Regions from separate parts of the Homo sapiens genome. Here all the other regions are linked to region 1. The links are contacts of gene promoters, found by promoter capture Hi-C in blood cells and fetal thymus (Javierre and others, 2016). All regions are on one chromosome and are shown on one strand. Each heading gives the region's core, a stretch centred on a gene start or on the middle of the fragment in contact. The rest is flanking DNA. Distances are from core to core; before and after follow the strand shown. Region 1 holds the start of SKIDA1 (SKI/DACH domain containing 1). Region 2 overlaps LOC107984215 (a long non-coding RNA gene). Region 3 overlaps ARMC3 (armadillo repeat containing 3). Region 4 holds the start of PIP4K2A (phosphatidylinositol-5-phosphate 4-kinase type 2 alpha). Region 5 overlaps PIP4K2A (phosphatidylinositol-5-phosphate 4-kinase type 2 alpha). Region 6 overlaps PIP4K2A (phosphatidylinositol-5-phosphate 4-kinase type 2 alpha). Region 7 overlaps PIP4K2A (phosphatidylinositol-5-phosphate 4-kinase type 2 alpha).

Region 1 (2,843 bases), core at 150-2,649:
CGCGCCCTTTTCTGAATGTATTTTTACAATTTCCCCCTTCATTTCCAAAAGTGGCTGAGAAGTCTCGCTTCCATCTTAATGTTGATTTGCTATTTCCCTCCGGAAAAGATTTCCTCAGGAAACCCCAAATCTAGAAGGAAATACAGCAAACCCTAGAACGCTTTTAACCCTTAAGACATCTTGTATTAAAAGAAAAAAAAAGCATGTATGTCTTAAAACCGGCCAAAGAACCATCTCCTCGCTCTTTATTTCCTCCTGTAAATGCTATTATTTTAAACTCTCCATTTTAAACTCGTCCTTCGGACGAGAGGGCAGAGAATGTGCCCGGCAGCACGCAGCAAATCAGAGGTTTTATCTTACGCCTCCTGGGACTGGGAAAAAAAGTGGAACGTGGCCGAGGGAGCTTCCAGGGCAGAAAAGCGACACAATTCGCTGGGGACGCCGCTGGGCCAGGCCAGGCGGGGGAGGCGCGGCGGGGGCGTCGAGGGCTCTCGGGCTCCGGGCCGGGGCGCCGCTGCGAGGAGGGGAGGCGGTTTTAAGTCATGGGGGCTGGGAGGGCGGCGGCGGGTCGGGCGTGACGAGACTTTCGGAGGCAGGATGGGGCGGCGGTGGAGTTGCCTGGGCTTTCTCAGCACCCCCCCCAACACACCCAAATAAAAAAAGGAAAGTTAGAAGGAGGCGGAGAGGAGGACAGCCATCCCCATTTCCTCCCCGCGACGCCGCGGAAGGGCTGGGGCCGCTGCGAGCAGAGAGAGGGCGCGGGATGAGGCGGGCCAATCGCAGTCAACAGGTCCAGGCCTCAGTGGGGCAGCTGAGCCGGGAGGCCGGCGCCCCCTCCCCTCGGCTCCCCGTCCCTCCCCTCCCTCGCAGGCCCGGCGCGGTAGGGGAGGCCCGGCCCGGCCCTCCCCGCCCCGCGCGGACTCGCTGCGGCCGACTCCGCCGGGGCAGTCGGGGTGGGGGTGGGGCGGGGGTTCCCCGCCGGAGAATCCTCCCCCGGGGCTGGCGGCGGGGGCGGGGAGCGAGAGCCGGGAATGGAGGATTAGGAAGGACTCCAGCTCGGCACGAGCGCGGCCCGCGCGAGGGATCCTGGGTAAAAAGTGGCCGCGCGGCACCGGAGAGCGCGGAGAGGAGCCGGGGTCAGGGGTCACGGCCCTGGAGCCCCGCGTGCAGAGCCCCCCACGTGAACGCAGCGAGCAGGAGGAACCTTTTTGTTTTCGACCGCGCCAGCATGCTCCCCTATTGACCGAGCTGCTTTTCCTGGGCTGCTGGGGAGAGGAGCTCCATTGCGGAGCTCTTAACCCCACCCCCACCTTCCACCGCCAACACACTTCCCAACTCAACCCTTCCTCTCAACTCTCATCCCAGCCCCCCGTCCTGAGCTTGCAATAACGCAGTAAATTTGCTTTAACAACAAGTGGGGGTGGTTGAATTTACTCCTCCCTCTCCTCTCTCCTCCCCTTCCTCTTGCTGCGGTTCTTGACACTACTACAAACCAGGACTATAAACATAAACATGTGTCACTGTAACAGGGCAGGTAATATACGGATTTTGAGGCGGGGTGGGGTGGAGCGGGGCTTGGTCGCCGCTTGGAGGGCAGTAAAAAGTCGCGTTTCACGTGCTCGACGGCTTTGGGGACTCCCGCACACATCGATCCGTTTATATAATGCCGAAGGCACTTGGTCACTTATTCAGCCACGCAGACCCACAAAGCCAGACTTGCGGATAACCAGCGTACCCCAAAGCAAATGCATTTCAATACGAATCCCTCTCCTTTCCCAGCCAGTGCTGCCATTTCTTCTATTAGCAAACAGTAACGTGATACTTGAATCCCCTTTCCTTTTTAAAAATTCTTTTCCAGATAGCCATGAGATCATTTTTCGACCTAAATAGTACATCTCTCCCATAGCCACTACCTACACATTTTGTGCGCAGAAACCCCTTCAAACAGCAAGAAAGTCTATTTAAATGACTGAGTTCGAAATCTGGTGTGCAAAGGGTATTTCTTGGGCTTTGCCTCCGTGCATTGAGCAACTTCTGCTGCAAGTTGCTGACACTGGCGCGGTGGAGATCCGCCACAGCAAGCCTTTTTTATTATTATTTAGTCTATATCTGCCTCTCAACTTTTTTCTCATTCTTAGTTCAACAAGCCAGCAACCACTACTTAAGGTAGAGTAAAGCGAATCCCTTCCCAAGCTTTTTGGCTTGAAACGGAGGGAGATACAGAAAATGTTCAGATGGGGAAGTGGTTCCCTTTGTTCTTTCATTGTTTCTCTACGAACTGGTGGATACAAGGACAAACACTTACCTTCTCTTCTTTTTGCTCCACAAACCAGACGTTCCCATCAGCCTTAAAATACACAATCCACCTTGAAAGTAACTACGGATGTCGGGAGAGTTTGTATTCCATTCTTTTTCGCTCTCTGCCCTCTTTTAGCGTAGGATTAAGTTGCAGAGCACGTTGCTGCAAGCTGTAGCCCCCCCCCCCCCCCGCCTTAGTGAATCGGTCACGTTTAGGACCCTCTAAGTCCATCCTAATTCTGCCAGTAGAATTGAGGGTATTGGAGCTCTAAACTTTCAAAAGGAAAGGGGCCTGCAACTCTCCAGAAAACTTACAAATACCCCGAAATTTTTTACCATTGTGTTTTTGCACCACATCACCAAATAGTATTTGCCAAGAAATAATAGATATGTCTTTGAGAAAAAAAAATTTTTTTAAGTTTATACTTAGCAATGCGCTGCTTAGACAGATGTAGTAAAAGGCAGGTTTGTATCGGCATTTAACGGAATGAGTGCGTTTTCCATAACGTTTGTTGTGCCATGTGTTTTTTTAAAACACAAACAAA
Region 2 (2,843 bases), core at 92-2,591, 1.6 Mb before region 1:
GTAATCTTTCTAAACTCATTTCTTAGTTCTAGTAACATTTTATGGATTTTATCAGATTTTCTACATAGAAAAATCATGTCATCTGTGTAGAAAGAGTTTTACTCTTTCTTTTTAATACAGATGTCTTTGATTTCTTTTTCTTGCCTTATTGCACTGGTTAGAGCCTGCGCAGTGTTGAATAGAAATGTTGAGAGTGAACATCCTTGTCTTGTTCCTGATCTTAGAGGAAAAGTATTCAGCCTTTTACCATTAAGTATGATATTAGCTATAAGTTTTTCATAAATTTTCTATCAGATTAAGGAAATTTCTATTTGTAGTCTACTGAGAGTTTTTATCAGGAAGGGATGTTGGATTTTTGTCAAATGCTTTTCTGCAGCTACTGATATAATCATACCTTTTTCCTATTTTCTTTTTGTAGTTTGTTACTTGATTTTCAAACGTTAAACCAACTTAGTATTTCTTCAATAAAGCCTGCTTTGTCAGTTTTATTATTTGTTTCATGTATTGTTGGATTATGTTCTATGTATCATGGATTACATTTTTTTAGAATTTTTGTGTCTGTGTTGATGAAGGATGTTGGACTGAAAGCTTCCTCTCTTATAGTATCTGTCTGGTTTTGTATCTGAGTAATAAGTAAACAAATTCAAATCCAGAGAGGATAAGTACCTTGTCTATGATCACACTGCTAGTTAGTTGAAGAGTTTGTAAAGTTCCCCTAAAGTTTAGAATTTAGAAAATATCAAGGAATACCGGTTTAACTCACCCACCTTCACCCCCAATCCCAAGCAAAGTTAATAAATTAACTTAACATTGTGACATTGTGGGAAAAAAATCATGGAGTCTGGTGTAAAACACATTCAAGTCAGAATATCTTAAATTTAAAAGACGCATGAGCTTGATCAAGTATTCAACCTGTGACAGATCAGTTTTCTTATCCCCAAAATGGGGTTATTGTAAGGATTAGATACAACATACGTTAAAACACCTAGCAAACCCTTTGGTACATACTTGGTTTTAATAAACGTTAGTTGTTATTGAAGATTTAATGAGGACAACGGTAATTGGTAAACAGAGCTGATAACCAATCTATCCTTGCATTTCTACATATCCTCACACTCCCAGAAAGACATTCTAAGCACAGAGGAAGTCCCTCCCTCCCTACCACCATTCTCCTTTACACCTGCTAGGAGGACCTTTACCTCATCTGTGATCAAGCCCTTACTGGTCTTAAAATGTCCCCTCTTCTCACCACCATTTATCTGAATCCAACTTAACCATCAAGGCCATGCATTAACCTCACATTCTTGGACACATGGTCTTAGCCTGAACAAAACTCTACTTTATGTTTTCCCTTTTACTTTGTACACTGAGTGGTAGAGACTATCATTTGCCTGGCCGATATCCACTCTCTCTACTTACAAACAGATCTTTGATTTTATTAAGAGTAGCAATATGCCTAGCTAAAATGTTACATCTGTCAGCTCCCTTGTAGTTGGTGGCAATCATATGATGCTGTTATGGGCAATGATAGGAGCAGACATCACTGGGAGCTACCAGGAAAACTAGTTAAAGAGGAGCTGGCTCAGCACTGGACTTTTGCTCTGTCTTTTGTTTCTGCTTGGAAATTAGTCATGATGGCTGGAGCACTGGCAATCTTCTGGTATACATGAAGATGAGACCCACATCTTGATTTTAAAGAAGTAGAAGACATGAAGGAGCCCAGGATTCTGAAGACAGTGTGGAGTCAATATGCTAGTCTTGGATTGCCTGCCTTCAGATTTCCAATTACATGAGAGACCAATAAATCTATATTTTGTTTAAATCACTGTTACTGGGATTTTCTGTTTCATGAAGTTGACACAGTGTATATCTGATGTCCTGAATTTGATTGTGAGAATCTTCAGGAAAGGCAAAATTCTATAACTTTGACTCTTTGTATATCCAACACACTTCTCTGCAAACTATAAATTTGATAATAAAATCCCTAAAAGATAGGATAGAATGACCAAAAAATGGGAGATAAGTGCAAAAGCCAATTTGCTTTTCCCTACCAAAAACCATTTGGGAAAGAATGAGGGACTGGAATAAGCTTTACACAATTAATCTGCACTGAAAATACTTTATCTGCTTCCATCTGCCCAAAGTTCAATGTCGATACTCATTTTTGTTTTACCTCAATCTAGAGAATTCCTAGAAACTAACCAACTGGAACATCTAATATATATAAAATATAGTTTTAAAGCTCTAAAGGCAGTGAATGAAGACTTAAATAAATGGTTCGATAGAAAAAAATAGCATGGGATAAGCTCTGGGTTCAATTTCTAGGTGTTCTCCTAAGCAGATACAGATGTTTTGGACAAACCAGTCTCTGGGCCTTGGTTTGATTATCTGGAAAATGACACGAATACAGGGGAGGGTGGCCTAGAACTAGAACTCAAATTATATCTCAACTCTCTTCAGTCTGTAATTATATGACGGGTGGTGAAAAATGGAAAGATACACTTGCTGACCAAAGAGCTGAAATTACGAAGGTTAAAATACATTCAACTTATAGATTTAAGCTATGTCACTTATAATCCCAATGGATTACTTTACAGGAATTGAAAAAATAACAACTGAAATAAATGTGGATAAAAATAGACTTTTATGTTAAAGATAATATTGGAGAAGTAGCCTCTCACATGTTAAAAGTGCTTATCAAGGAAGAGTAGATATGAAAACAGTGTTCTGATTGAAATAATAACCAAAAAATAGTCCAGAGAGATAAGAGGTTCCAGAAATTAATACATATTTAACCTATTAGAAACAAGGGGATATAAAATTATTCAGTATATTTTTTGTGG
Region 3 (2,843 bases), core at 256-2,755, 1.5 Mb before region 1:
GTATTGACTTTTCTTGAAACACTGTGTGAAGTTCTGTATGTGGCATACGTTCTAAAGTTTTCTCTACAAATTGCATGGCATTCTCAGGCATGATACTCCATGAATAATTCTAATAAGTATTAAAATTAGTCAATGCTTTATTTCTATATTAGCGAAAAGAATGTTTAATACTGATAATACAAAATGACAAGTTATCCATATATAACGAGGACATTCTAAGCTTCCCAAAGCACTCAAATGCACATCCATATAATTTGGGGGCATTCTATCTGTTTGTGGAGTCCCTTTGGAGTGTACTGCTTACAATTTCATCATTCCCTTGTGCGGTCCTGACCATAGGGAACACAACAGCAAGACAGTTTCTGGGGAAGAGCTTTTTGTCTCTGGTATTGTAGAAGCTGGCAATGGGCCAGTAATCAATCAATTAATTTTTCAGTCACCACTATATGTGCTAACATTTAGAACTTTCTTGGGTCACTGCTGTCATGGAAAGTCAAAAGGGGTACAAAAAATAAAAAATAAAAAGCAAAGAAATGGTAATAAAAGGGTCTCTAAGATTTAGGTAAATCACTCAGTTCTTCATGGGGATGACATGGAATAATTATGAAGAATCAGAGTTAGTGTGATCTATGTGTAAACAAGGGACTTATGATCATGCATTTACTGTAACAAAACTTCAGTTCTCACTTCTCTATAGTTATTAAAATAATTGTAGTTATTACTGTGTATATTTTTATTTTGTTCATTGCATTTTATTTCCTAAGATAATTGCATCTTTTGAAAACTGTCTAGCCAACATTTATACTAATCTTTATTAGTTCTGAACATTTATTCTAATCTTTTCATAGTTTACCAGTGGCCAAATTTAGTTAGCATTGCCAAAGGGAAGTGAAAAACACTGAACCCTTTTTCTTCTTGGAACAACTTAAACTCTAATTCTGATCAGATCCAACAGATGGCAGTGATGTTATAAAGTAATAGTTTAAAACATTCTTTTAATGTGTAGGGTCTGCTCCTCAGAGAATAAGTCTCTCAGTACTTGCATAAATAATATGGAACTTTGATATGATTAATTGGATAGAAGCATACAGGATAAATGTAACATGAAATTTAGCTGAAAACAATATTTCCTATGTCAAAAATAAACGGTTTTCTCGTTTTCAAAAGGCATTACAAATTGTTAACTGTAAAAGAGATTAGCAGTATACCAAGAAAAGATATGTGTCCAAACAACTACATTTTTCTATAAAATTCATTATTGCTTCTTGGTTTCCATTTTTATTTGTTCCTTTCTACAGGCATTGTTTTAGCCTTCACACCTTTTATTTATTCACTTAAAAATAGTTTTACTTTGCTTTCTCCTTCTTTCACTGCTAATAAGTGAATCTGGCTGTTCTTGTCCCCTTTTACTATGCCTTTATAAAAATAGTTATTTTTATTCTTATTCATTGCCTTTTCATATTTGTACCCACTTTAAGTTATCTTTATTCTGTAGATAATAATTAGAAGTATCAATAGGAGGCTCTTATAGGGAAGCCTCCACTGTTGCTTCTGTTTTCCAAGTTATATAAAAACAAAGAAAACAACACTGATGATTGCTTTCTGTTTTAAGTAATGGCCATTATTGATTGTTTGACAACAGACTTTGTTTGTCAAATAGACTTTGTTTTCATCACTTTTCTTTTACTTTTGGGTTTTTTGTTTTGTTTTGTTTTGTTTTGGGTTTGTTTTTTTTTTTTTTGTTTTTTTTTTTGAGATGGAGTCTCACTCTGTTGCCCAAGCTGGAGTGAAGTGGCGCGATCTTGGCTCACTGCAACCTCTGCCTACAGGGTTCAAGCAATTCTCATGCCTCAGCCTCCCATGTAGCTGGGATTACAGATATGCACCACCATTCCTGGCTAATTTTTGTATTTTTAGTAGAGATGGGGTTTTGCCATGTTGGCCATGCTGGTCTCGAACCCCTGACCTCAAGTAATCCACCCGCCTTGGCCTCCCAAAGTGCTGGGATTACAGATGTGAACCACCTTTGCCCGGCCATTTTTTGGTTGTATTTTTGATGTAAGCCTATTTTCCTTCGAATGCCTACTATGGGATGGACAGTGTTCTAGATGCTTGGGATGCATCAGTGAATTAAATAGATGAAGGCTGCTCCCTTCATGGATGCTAGTGGTTGGTGTGTGGCGCGGGGGGGGGGCGTGCAGTGCAGGGGTGTGGGGGTGCAGAAAATAAATGATGATAAGTGTACCAGGTGAGTTACATGCTATGTTAGAAAATGATAAGGGTATGTGAAAAGGGCAGCAGGGAAGGAGCGTTGAAAATATGCATGTGTGGAGTGCAATCTTAAGCCGTGTGGTAATGCTAAGTAGCTTCGCCAAGGTGACATTGTAACAGAGATGTAAACGGGGTGAGGGAGAGAACCACAGCCTGCATGGGAAGAGGTTTTCCAGGCAAGAGGGTGTCACTACAATGACCTAAGGCAAAATACTCCCGGAAGCGGAATTTACTTCCAGGATATATTTTATGTCTATTTTACTCTACAACATTAGCCCATTTGTAAGTAAAAGGATTCATGTTTGTTAATAATTTTTAACTACCATCCATATCCACGTATCCATAACTCAAATACCTGGAAATTTCACATAACCACAACATACACGAGAATTATCTGTGGGGGTAGGGAATGGCCTCTGAGAAGCAAAAATTATGTACATACCAAAGAGGCATCAGGCCCTCCTGTATGGCTTTTGTGTACAATTTGATAAAGCTGGGTTACCTGGAATCCAAGCTTTTCATGGACAGAAAGGAAGGATTTGAAAGGAACTCTGACAGGGAGGAAGTTAGAG
Region 4 (2,843 bases), core at 128-2,627, 1.2 Mb before region 1:
TAAGCCCAGGAGTTCGAGACCAACCTGGGCAGCATGGTGAAACCCCATCTCTACCAAAAATACAAGAAGTTTATCCAGGCTTGGTGGTGCGCGCCTGTAGTCTCAACTACTGGGGAGTCTGAAGTGGGAGAATCACCTGAGTCTGGGGAAGTAGAGCCTGCAGTGAGCTGTGATTGCACCACTGCACCCCCAGCCTGGTTGACACAGCGAGACCCTATCTCAAGGGAAAAAATAAAAATAAAAAAGAGGTATAGCTCACATTTATTTTAATGTTTAATATTAGAAGTGTTTTGAATTTTTACTTTGAAGTTCGGTGATGTTTTTGTAACCGGAAATAATGCTGTAGGAACTTAACTCTTTTTTTATATGTCAGCCTATGGCAAATTTGGTTTTGTTATATGTTGTTTTGCTTAAGGTGACAGTTTCCAAGAACCTACTCCGTGAGGACTGGTGAGCTGGGTCAGAGTAAATAGCACAGGATGACGACTGCAAGGACGATATGGGGGCAGCAGGGTTTTAGACATACTTGGAATGGCAGCTTCCTGAGGTAGGCCAAGTATTCTCAGCATAATAAGGGCTACATTTAGGTGTATCTGGAGGAAGACGGTGAACAGATTTCCACGGACGGTGAGTGCACTGGAAAACAGGCAGGGATGGCAAGTACCATAGTGATGGATTGGAAGAAGGTGCACTTTGGGGCATGATTCTACTGGTTAAGCCAAGGGCTCTCGATGAGGTCCGAGGTTCCTGCCCCGGGCACGGAGTGGGTTGGCAGTGACAGCCCAGCCTATTACGTGGGAGTCTCCCTCTTGAATGGCTCCAGGAGGCCCATATCGAGGGTCTGAAAGGCCAGACGGTTATCCGCACAAAAGTATTAAGTTCATTTCAGGGACTGACCCGGCAATGTGCCCGGGTCCTTCCCCTCGGTGCTGGGAAGCCCTGGTCTCCCTGCAGCATTTCACACCTGGCTGGGTCTCCTGACTCGTGGCGTGGGTGAGTGCATGAGCCTCCCTCCTTCGCCTGATCGACGCCTGGGGGCTCCTCTCCCCAACCTCCTCACTCTGCCCACTCTGTCCTCTCCCTCCTTGGGGAGCGGCAGGGGACGCCTAGCCGGGGTCCCCAGGCTCCCGCTCGCAACCCACGGCCTCCTCCGCGGGCAGGGAGCGAACGCCCGGAGGTCGCCCGCGCACAGGGGGCGGCCCGGCTGCAGCGGAGCCGGGGCGGGAAGGCGCAGCCTAACGGTCCAGCTGCCGCGCCCCGCGCCCCGCACCCAGTGCCCCGCCCGCGGCGCCGCAGCCGCCTCCCGCCTGCCCGCCCGCCCCCTGCGTCATGACGCCGGCGCCCAACGCGGAAGCCGCTCGCCGCGCGCCGGGTCCAGCCGCGGGCTGAGCGCGGATCCGCGGCGGGCGCAGGATACGGGCCGGGGCGCGAGCCGAGCGCAGTCTGCCGGGCCGAGCGGGCGGAGCGAGCCGAGTGGGGCTGAGCGCGCCGGCGGCGGCGGGCGGAGCGGAGCGCGGCGCGCCGGGGCCGCCGCCGGGGGGATGCGGCTGCCTCCCCGGGCCGGGGTGTAGAGAGGGCGGGTCCCCGGCCTCGGGAGCACGGCGGTGGAGGGGACATAGGAGGCGGCCATGGCGACCCCCGGCAACCTAGGGTCCTCTGTCCTGGCGAGCAAGACCAAGACCAAGAAGAAGCACTTCGTAGCGCAGAAAGTGAAGCTGTTTCGGGCCAGCGACCCGCTGCTCAGCGTCCTCATGTGGGGGGTAAACCACTCGGTAAGGGCTCAGCTGCGGCGCGCGGTCCCCTTCCTCCTCCTCCTCTTCCTCCTCGTTCCCCTCCTCCTCCGGCTGCAGCTGCTGCGGGGCGGGGAGCCGGAGTCAGCCCTGGACCTCCGGCTGCTCGCCCGCCTCGAAGCCCCCAGCCCCGCGGCGCGTGCCCCCAGCCCTCTGGGCCGCCCAGGCACCACCACTTGCGTCCCCTTTAGATCTATGGCCCGGTGCGGGTCGGGGGTCCCGTGTGCATGTGAGTCTCACGGTGGGTGCCAGTGCCGCCCCCGGTCCGCCCGCCCGCCCGCAGGTCGGTCCCCGCAGCCTGGGAGGTAGGAAGTTTGTGCGGGGCACGGCGCCTCGGCTGTCAGCCCCGGCGGGAGCTGCTGGGGGCCGGGTCCGGGCGACCGCTACCCGGTGTGGGGGCCGCGCGGCGCCCGCGTCTTCCGCTTGCGGGCAGGTGTACCTGTCCCGGGCTGGGCGCGTGCGAGCCTCCCACTGGGGCACTGGGGCGAGGATACCGGAGCGCGAGCAGATTTGGGGCAGCAGCTTTAGTGCTTAGGTCCTTTCTTTTTCCTTTAAAGGCAATATTACTGGGCACAAGTCGGCTTTTTGGCAAAGCAGCAGCCGATGTAAATATGGCTCTGGCGTCGGGCGGCATCCCTGCGCTTCTCCCGCATCGCCCTGCCGCTGTGCGGGCTGGAGAGCCCTTGGCGGGGAGTCTTCCTCCCTTCGTCGCCTCCCCCCACTTTGGGGAGTCAGGCAGAAGTCACCGACTGCGGAAGGGCGGCCGGGGCGGGGACAGCAGGCGGGGGTCCCGGCGGGCGCGGGCGGAGGGGGTCCCGAGTTGGCCGCACCCGCTGTGGGGGGTGTGGGAAAGGCTGGAGAACGCGTGGAAAGGTTAGCGTCACGCACAGTCGGGGATTGGAGGATGCGCCGCTGCGGGCTATGCGGACTGCGGTTCGAGGGTCTGAAATAGCCTCCTGCTGATCTGACAGCGAGAAACTCCTGCAGTTTTAATCCACTTCGATAGGATCAGGAAACATGATCGGAGCTGTTGGCTCAGCCAGGAAAGTTTAA
Region 5 (2,843 bases), core at 123-2,622, 1.2 Mb before region 1:
CTGACCATGTGCCCCTCCCAAGTTTCGCACATTCCCAGGTATCTAGTGTGTTCAGTTGTCTCCCTGCGCTACTCAGCAGCTACCTTTTTCAGCATTGGCCCTAGCTTGCTTCTGTGCCCAGGAACAGGAACAGAAGTTTTCTTCTCAGGGGTCCCCTGTCTCTCTTAGACCAAGTCCACAGGCTTTTACTACATTAGGCCTTGGAGTACATTTCCTGTAGAATCAAAGGGCCAACTTACAAATGAATGTTTGGAACACAACCCATTCATAAATTAGGTTCTGCCTGCACCCAGATGGAAAGTTAAATGCTTTGGCATCAGAAGAACTGTTGGGAAACAGATATTGTTTCTGAAATTATGATAAATCCATAAGGCACTTTCTTTTTGGCACGTTGCGCCAAAGTAGGAGGACAGGAGCAAATTTTAGGGACATTAAAAAAATAGGTTAGGAGAAGCTAATCTTTTTGTCTAATTCACTTTCTCTTGCAGTTCTGGCATCGGATACTCACAGATTTAACACATGCCAATGAATATTTGAGCCAGGAAATAGCCAATAGTGAATATTTTTATTATGTGTTAGATAAAGCTTCTTTCTTCTTATGCTTATTTAGGTGAACTAGAAATATGGTTTCAGTGAAATTTAAGTTCTGATAAGTACAGATACATAGCATATTTTCTGAAAAATTTGAAAAACACACACAAATATAAAAAATTACCATAACCATTCTATCAAGCAACCAGTGTTAATGTTTTAATGTTTCTTTCCAATGTCTTTTTAAAAAAATCTCATTGAGACTATTCTATGTATTTAATCTTACTATGTATTCTTAACAATTATTTTAAATTTTTGATCACTGCTTAATAATTAGGTTGGTGCAAAAGTAATTGTGGTTGTTGCCATTACTTTCAGTGGCAAAAACTGCTATTCCTTTTGCACCAACCTAAATAGTTTAATGAAGTTTAATAGTCCAAACATTGGTCCCAGTATTTTGCCACCACAAATAATGTTGCTGTCAGCATCTCCCTGTATGAAACTCTTTCTTATTTAGGATGATTTCCTTAGAAGAGATTCTCTTTTTGGGGAATTTACTTGGTCAAAGGGTATGAATATTTTAAGGCTCTTGGTACATGTTGCCAAGTTGCTTTCAAAAAGGGTTATACCAGATTATAACCCTAGCAGTGTGGCTAAGAGCTGCTTTCCCACATCTTCTGCTTTCAGGGTTCTAAATTGAACAGCAAAGATTGGAATAAAAAGATATCCTTTTTTCCCATATGCTTTTAACCCATTTAAATCTCTTTATAGAGATTTTCAGCAGTTTGACCAAAGATGTACGCACATGGGCAGTGTGGGAGTATCAGGTCTGAGGTTGGAAGATGGCTTCCACATAGGCTGCCTGGCCCGAGTCTGCCCTCTGAAAAGAGCTGCTTTCAACTGACCCACTTCTCCCAGTTTTTCTTCGTCGGACTCTAAGCAGAGAGTGCCTGCATCCCAGAAGCAGGTCGCTGTCCACTGTCTGTGGTTGGTTAATTTTTGCTGGCCATAGCCCACATGATTTATATTAAACTCAATCCAATAGCATTTAATGGCAGGCAGAATTCTTCCCATGTAAGTAGACTAGTCAGGAATTTGCCTTTCATTATCCTCGGTCTGACTGCTTAACGTTAGACTCGACCTATGGACGATTCACATGAACCGTTTCAGAAAATGTAATGTGACATCTGCTAGAGTCCACAATTACAGGGTGTGTGTGTGTTTGTGTGTGTGTGTGTATGTGTGTGTTTAATTTTTTAAAAAATTTTCCGAGATGCAGTTTTGCCCTGTTACCCAGGCTGGAGTACAGTGGTGTGATCATAGCTCACTACAGCCTCGAATTCTTGGGTACAAGTGATTCTCCTGCTTCAGCCTCCTGTAATAGCTGGGACTATAGTTGTGTGCCACCATACCCCGCTAATTTTTAAAAACAAATTTTTGTAGAGATGGGGGTCTTGCTGTGTTGCCTAGTAGGATAGTCTTGAACTCCTGGGCTCAAGTGATCTTTCTGCCTCGGCCTCCTAAAGTTTTGGGATTTCAGACATGAGCCACCACACCCAGCCTTGCTTTTTAAATGTTGGATGTTACCATCCCTCTACTGTGGTCCTGTAGTTTGGCTTGAAGCTTGATTCTGTGCGCTAGCCACTCTGTCAAGAATTATGTAGTATAAATAATGCCGGTCACTTGTGCTGACCTCACAAACATTCCGAAGCCTGGCAAGGCAGGTGTGGAAGCTCAGAGCTTTGCCATCTAACTGAGTACTCAGGCTTCTTTCCATTTAGATAAGACACTCAGAAAGGAAAAGCAATGCAATTTTAATTTTTACTTAACATACAAAGTAGCCTTTTTTTTTTTTTTAAGCTGAAGGAAATGAACTCCAGAGAACACTGAAGAAAATTGAAGGAAAAAAGTAGAGCTCTTAGAAAGAAAGGAAAGGTCACGCTTATAAACTGTAGCCATCTAGATAAACTGTTATTTCCACTTTATGTGGATGTATTTTATTGTGACAGTGCTAACTACAGTTGCCAATTTTCAGGAGGCCTAAATTACTGACTATTTTAGATGAATTCAGGCTTTAAAATTAGCCCTGGGATAATATATTTCTTTTAAAATGGGACCTTAATTGATCCTTATTTTTTAAAGCTTGAATTAAGTAGAAAATTAAGGGTCTTTTGTAAAAGATGATAATATATATTTAACTTGGATGATTACCTAATAGAGAATTATTCCTTGTTCTAGTATTTTAAAATATTAAATGTTTGACACAAAAACAGACCATTCTGAATAGGCTTTAGGAAGTAGGTGACTTTTCA
Region 6 (2,843 bases), core at 241-2,740, 1.2 Mb before region 1:
TTCCCTATGATAATACAGTCTCCAGAAGGGGTAGGGCCTGGTGTGGAATCGGTGCCCGGAGTGCACCCAGTGAATGAGCACACCCCAGTAGGAATTCTCAACCCCAGCTGGGCCCAATACCTTCTTTGCCAGGTGATGCAAACATGTACATGCAAAACATGTACATGGTAACCTCCTTTAATAACTTGATATGAAATTCACAGATGATAGCTCTTAAAAAATGAATATAATGTCCTAAGTATAACAGGAAAGAGAAATATAAGGAAAGTAATTTGCAATAAAATCATGCTTTTTCTTCTCCTATTTCTAGTATTGGTGGCACAGATTGTACCAGACTAACCTACTAGCAGGTAATAAATATTGTAAGCCTCTTAGGCAAAACAGCATCTCCCAGTATTCAGCTCTTGCCATCCCTCTGAGCTAAGCCTTTCTCCCCTGTGGCACTTAGTACTGAGTGACATTCTGGTTTTTTAATTGTTGGCTTCCTCCTCTGCTAAGAAGCTCCATGAGGGAAAGGAATGTTTTCTGTTTCATTCAGCTCTGTATCCTCAGCACCCAGAACAGTGCCTGGACTATAGCAGTTGCCCAGTTAAGCAGATGTACCTTTTACTTCTTGTTCTCTGATTCATCAGCAGGAAGAGCCTATGAAAGGTCTCCCTTATCAGCCCATCACTGAGCCAGATATTCCCTCTGGTTAGTCTCTTGCCCTTGTTCCTCTCTGCTGGATGAGATGATGTAGCAGCTGAAGACTCTCCACCTATAACTGTATCGTGCCACATTCAGATTTTTAGAATGCCCCTCTTGATCTGGCCATATCTACATTAAATGCTATTTTCTTCAAGCAGTGAGACAAAGCTGAGAGACGATAGGTTTAAAGATTGGTTACAAATTCTGATGAAGACTGGTCCTTGAAGTCTTTGGGCTGTTACATGGCCCTTTGGAAGCAATAGGTCATCACTGTGAACAACTTCTGTAGGTACTGGTTTCCATACGAAGGGAATACATCTTGATGACTTTACATGAAGTCTTAACTTTATTTGCTGTTTAATGTAAGTTGGTCAAGGGTCTTATTGAGCAGAAGAAACTTGGGAAATGAAAGCACTGTTACTGGGACCACAGTTTTTGAGCCTCTGCTGTCAATGGAAACAGACACTTCAAAAATGCTCTCCACGGAGGCTCAGAGAGATGAAAAGACAGGAAAAGGAGCCGAAAAGATGAAAAGACAGGAAAGAAAAGACAAAAAGGAAAAGGAGCTCCATGTGCCATCATGGAGCACAGGGACAAAGAAATGGCAACAGTGTGTCTGTTTCCCTGTTAATGGTTGTTGAGAAATACTAGCCACAGTTTCCAAAGTATTTAAGGAATAGGAAATGTGCAATAAATTATGTGATTTTTTTGTGGATCAGTTTCCTTCTTCCAAGTCGGGAAATGTCAGAGAAACACTGTGTTGTTCAAGGATGACAGCCAGGAACTAGTCAGGCTTCAGCACCTCCTGCCATTGACCCTCTTCTCTGAGCATTATGTAGAGTGGATGTGAGGGCTCATTCATGGACTGTGTCAGGAGAATTGTACTACATTGATCATTTAAGGGAACCATTCTGCTTGTTCAGGAGAGTCTTTTCATTACTTATAATGGCTTGTTTATTGACATTTCTTATTTACTGTTTCTCCTCAACAGTGTTTTTGTTTGTTTGTTTTTTGAGACGGAGTCTCACTCTGTTGCTCACGCTGGAGTGCAGTGGTGCAATCTTGGCTCACTGACTGCAACCTCCACCTCCCGGGTTCAAGCGATTCTCCTGCCTCAGCCTCCTGAGTAGCTGGGATTACAGGCACACGACACCATGTTCGGCTAATTTTTGTATTTTTAGTAGAGATGGGGTTTCACCATGTTGGTCAGGCTGGTCTCAAACTCCTGATTTCGTGATCTGCCCACCTCGGCCTCCCAAAGTGCTGGGATTACAGGTGTGAGCCACCGTGCCTGGCTTCTCCTCAACAATGTTCTAAGAGATAAAGCAAAAGTATCAGGTAATATGTCATTGTAATGGTACCTGGGATAGAAGAATTTCATTTGCTTGCTACTATCTCCACTCTTACATGAATACAAATGTTCCCAATTTTTAGTCAATGTACCAATCAACATTGAATGAATGATATGTAAATTACAAGAATGAAGGGCCAGAAAGATGTCACGTATCAGTGATGACTGTTCTGAGCTGTGCCCTCTTAAAGCAATAAAGTAAGTTCTCTTTGATTAATAGTTACGTTGGCTACCTTTTAGCTGCCCATGAAAAATATAGATGGACTTTTTTTTGTTTTTTAAAGACAGAATCCTACGGTCTTGTTTTGTTGCCCAAGCTGGAGTACAGTGGCATGATGATAGCTCACTGCAGCCTCAAACTCCTGGGCTTAAGCAATCTTCCTGCCTCAGCCTGCTGAGTAGCTACGACCATAGGCACACCACCACTCCTGGCTGGGTTTTATTTATTTATTTATTTATTTATTTATTTTTTGGTAGAGACTGAGTCTTGCAATATTGCCTGGACTGGTCCTGAAATCTTGGCCTCAAGCATCCTCCCACGTTTAGCCTCCCAAAGTGCTGGGATTACAGGCATGAATCACTGTGCCTGGCTGGAAATTTCTTAGTAAAACAAAATTCGTTAGTGGTTCAAATATATTTTCAGTGCTATAAAGAATATAACATTTCTACCTATTGTCAGCTAAAGCTAAGAGTTAAAGAACTACACCTAACATAGTGACTGGCATAAAGTAGATGTACAATAAGTATTTGCTGAATGTGTAACTGGATGGCTGGAATTAACTTTGAGTAGGAGAAACAGCTGGTC
Region 7 (2,843 bases), core at 209-2,708, 1.1 Mb before region 1:
CAAGACATTTTCCACTTGTTACTTTAACAAAGTTTACAGTATTCTACTTGTTTTCATTCCTTCAAAACTAATCTTTTTCTTTCTTTTCTTTTCTTTTCTTTTTTTTTTTTTTTTAAAGAAATAGAATCTTTCTCTGTTACCCAGAACTGGAGCACAGTGGTGCAATCGTATCTCATTGCAACCTGAAACTCCCAGGCTCAAGTGATGCTTCCATCTCAGCCTCCCGAGTAGCTGGGACTACAGGTCCTGCCACCATGGCTGGCTAATTTTTAAAATGTTTTGTAGAGACAGGGTCTCACTATGTTGCTCAAGCTGGTCTGAAACTCCTGGGCTCAGGTAATCCCCTCACCTCAGCCTCCCAAAGTGCTGGGATTATGGGCGTGAGCCATCGTGGCTGGCCCTAATTCATTTTTAATAACTAACCAGACACACTAGTGGTGTTATACGTGAGCATTAATATTTTTTTGTCATCGTCACCCATTTAAAAAAATTGCGTTTTCAAAATGAGTTGCTTCAACCTAGTGTGGAGAATCAAAATTTTAAAAGATCAAAATTTTGGTATTTTAAAAGTCAATTCTGACCAATTATAGTGATTTGGTTCTACCTGATAGTTTAATATTTCTTTGCTCTTTTAGTAAGTCCCCAGCATAGGGGGAAGGGGGTAGGCAGTAAGTCTTAGAAAACTGTCTTGCGAATTTACTGACTCTTATGGATTGGGAATTTCTAGGAGTATCTGGAAATTAACCGAAGCAGTTCTTTTTCTTCTCCAGTTAGGGCAAGTTGCCATGAAACAAATAATGGTGACTTGGTTGGTTCATTTAGTTCATTTATTTATTGAATATTTATGGCCTGTCCACTAATTACCTGGCACAAGTGTAGGTCCTAGAAGATACACACTAGGGAAAAAATAGACACACAGACTAGATCCCTACTGTCCTGTCTTACATTCTAGGAGGCGGAGAGAAAATGTTAAAAATGAACAAAGTAAGTTGTCAGGTCAGGTGCTACCAAGTGCTAGGGAAGGAGATTAGAGTGGTGGGTGCCATCTGGATAGGGTGGTGAGGGGAGCCCCATCTGCTAAGGTGGCATTTGAGAGGAGACTTGAGGTGAGAGACTGGGAAGTGAGGTGGGGACCGAAGCCTGACGGACTAGCCATGGGCAAACCAGGCAGGAGTTTAGCCAAGGTGAGGACTTGTAGAGGAGTTGGGCAGGGATGTGAAATAATTAGCTTGATGTTCTGCATAGGATGCCCTGGGCTGCAAGGTGTGGAACTGATAAGCCAAGACCTCCCAGGAGGCTTTGCCGCCATCTGCAGAATCATGCTGATGGCTTTGAAGAGAGAGGCAGTGGTGGAGAGAAGTGGCTGATTTGGGGCATGTTTTGAATAAAGAGCCCACAGATTTGCTGAAGACTTGACTGCAGGGTGAGAGGGGAGTCAGAGTCAACTCCGGGAGTTTGGGCCCAAGCTACTCTGTGCATGGAGGTGCTACTCTGTGCGTGGAGGTCCCACTGGCTGAGAGAGGGAGGGGTGAGCAGGAGCTGGTTGCAGGCCAGGGGAGAACAGGACTTCATATTTACGTGTTGTTTAGTTTTGGGGATGCTTGTTAGAGATCCAGCTGGGGATGGTGATTAGCAGGAGTTTAGAATTCAGTGGAGAGATTAGGGCTAGAAATGTTTTAAAAACTGAGAGCCATTGCACTGCAGATGGTGGGGCAGGCTGGGTTCTGGAGGATGATAAACCCTCCAAGGGAAGGGGAAGTGGCCAGGAGCCTTCCAAGAGGCAGAGGCGTGGTGTAATGTGATGGTAGGTGCTTCAGAGGGGATGACCGCTTCAGGGAGGAGGAGGGAATGGGGGTGTGGGATTGGTCAGGAGGAGCACAAGGCACCTACCCCATCTTCTGGTTCTGTGGTTCCTGCGCAGAAGAAAAAAATACTTGAGGGGGGCTGCAAGGGAAGTGTGGTCCTTGGGGACAATCAGAATTTGGCTGGCATGAAAAGATAAAGGTTCAGCGTTAGGTTAATTTTTGCTGATGAGAAATTATGACTCTTGGAGAGCCCCATGGAGGGATTTGGGGGCCTGGGATGGCAAAGGTTCAGGTCAACTGGGTCAGGTTAGGCAATCTTTGGAGGGGAATGGAGCGAGCTGGTGGCTAGAATTCTTGTAACATCTGAATTAAACAGGGATGGAAGGCCTGGTGGGATTAATCTGCCTTCCTAAGACAGATCTAAGGGTGAGCAAACTTTTTCTGCAAAAAGACAGTAAGTATTTTAGGCACTGTATTTAGGCCATACAGTTTCTGTCAGTGACTCAAACTTCTATCATAGCACGAACACAGCCATAGATAACACAAATCAATGGGCCTGGCTCTGTTCCAATAAAACGTTATTGACAAAAGCAGCCAGCGGCCAGATTTGCCCATAGGATGTAGTCTGGCAAACTGTAGACAAGGGAGTTAGTAATTGGTGAGAGAGGGATGAGGAGATGGGTGGGAAGAAGGGGCCCGAGACTTGGAGTTGGGAAAACTGGAGCTCCAGGAGCCAAGTCCTCAGTCTGTCCCCATCCTGATGAGGTGTCCATCACCCACAGGGAGAACTAGGTGTTTCCACTCCTCCTCCTTGGTGCTGGAGCCTTTTGAAAATTGCTTAATGAAATAGGCAGGTAATCCCAGGTCTCATATTCAGGAGCGTGATGAGCTTCTCCTCATCTCCACAGCAGACAGACTAGAGGAAAGAGACTTAAGATGTAATCAGAGATGTTTACATTGACAAAAGAAAACTTCTTGGCAGGAATGAAGCTAAAATACATGAATTACTATCTAGGAAGGTCTGAAGATTGTTGGAGG

The links. Contacts are between HindIII fragments. The CHiCAGO score rates a contact against its expected background, and 5 or more counts as called.
Region 2: a contact is called between a fragment that was not itself captured here and the fragment with the promoter of SKIDA1 in region 1, in 2 of 17 cell types (naive CD8 T cells and total CD4 T cells). The highest score is 6.2, in naive CD8 T cells.
Region 3: a fragment that was not itself captured here is called in contact with the fragment with the promoter of SKIDA1 in region 1 in 6 of 17 cell types (total B cells, naive B cells, fetal thymus and 3 more); the score reaches 14.2 in total B cells.
Region 4: a contact is called between the fragment with the promoter of PIP4K2A here and the fragment with the promoter of SKIDA1 in region 1, in 3 of 17 cell types (activated CD4 T cells, total CD4 T cells and naive CD8 T cells). The highest score is 7.3, in activated CD4 T cells.
Region 5: a contact is called between a fragment that was not itself captured here and the fragment with the promoter of SKIDA1 in region 1, in 2 of 17 cell types (activated CD4 T cells and fetal thymus). The highest score is 5.8, in activated CD4 T cells.
Region 6: a contact is called between a fragment that was not itself captured here and the fragment with the promoter of SKIDA1 in region 1, in 1 of 17 cell types (non-activated CD4 T cells). The highest score is 5.7, in non-activated CD4 T cells.
Region 7: a fragment that was not itself captured here is called in contact with the fragment with the promoter of SKIDA1 in region 1 in 1 of 17 cell types (naive CD4 T cells); the score reaches 5.4 in naive CD4 T cells.

Annotation. Positions count from the first base shown.
Region 1 is chr10:21,524,238-21,527,080 of GRCh38, reverse strand. SKIDA1 (SKI/DACH domain containing 1) reads left to right here and starts at 1,399. Exons shown (of 4, transcript NM_207371.4): 1 at 1,399-1,534. RefSeq lists silencers at 375-524, 645-1,064 and enhancers at 720-1,363, 1,364-2,007. The HindIII fragment of the contact is 4,259 bases long and covers 1-2,195 here.
Region 2 is chr10:23,090,402-23,093,244 of GRCh38, reverse strand. All of the region lies in intron 1 of LOC107984215 (a long non-coding RNA gene), which reads left to right. Among named protein-coding and RNA genes, the nearest start is that of MSRB2, 3.8 kb to the left of the region's middle. The HindIII fragment of the contact is 1,501 bases long and covers 591-2,091 here.
Region 3 is chr10:22,985,462-22,988,304 of GRCh38, reverse strand. All of the region lies in intron 10 of ARMC3 (armadillo repeat containing 3), which reads right to left. Among named protein-coding and RNA genes, the nearest start is that of ARMC3, 59 kb to the right of the region's middle. The HindIII fragment of the contact is 2,565 bases long and covers 223-2,787 here.
Region 4 is chr10:22,713,112-22,715,954 of GRCh38, reverse strand. It overlaps PIP4K2A (phosphatidylinositol-5-phosphate 4-kinase type 2 alpha), which reads left to right and starts at 1,377. Exons shown (of 10, transcript NM_005028.5): 1 at 1,377-1,772. The coding sequence starts at 1,629. RefSeq lists enhancers at 515-1,122, 1,123-1,731 and silencers at 892-1,561, 1,862-1,941, 2,112-2,231, 2,532-2,641. The HindIII fragment of the contact is 12,209 bases long and covers 1-2,843 here.
Region 5 is chr10:22,696,684-22,699,526 of GRCh38, reverse strand. The region is part of intron 1 of PIP4K2A (phosphatidylinositol-5-phosphate 4-kinase type 2 alpha); the gene reads left to right. Among named protein-coding and RNA genes, the nearest start is that of PIP4K2A, 16 kb to the left of the region's middle. The HindIII fragment of the contact is 1,569 bases long and covers 588-2,156 here.
Region 6 is chr10:22,674,447-22,677,289 of GRCh38, reverse strand. All of the region lies in intron 1 of PIP4K2A (phosphatidylinositol-5-phosphate 4-kinase type 2 alpha), which reads left to right. Among named protein-coding and RNA genes, the nearest start is that of PIP4K2A, 39 kb to the left of the region's middle. The HindIII fragment of the contact is 5,805 bases long and covers 1-2,843 here.
Region 7 is chr10:22,642,821-22,645,663 of GRCh38, reverse strand. The region is part of intron 1 of PIP4K2A (phosphatidylinositol-5-phosphate 4-kinase type 2 alpha); the gene reads left to right. Among named protein-coding and RNA genes, the nearest start is that of PIP4K2A, 70 kb to the left of the region's middle. The HindIII fragment of the contact is 9,116 bases long and covers 1-2,843 here.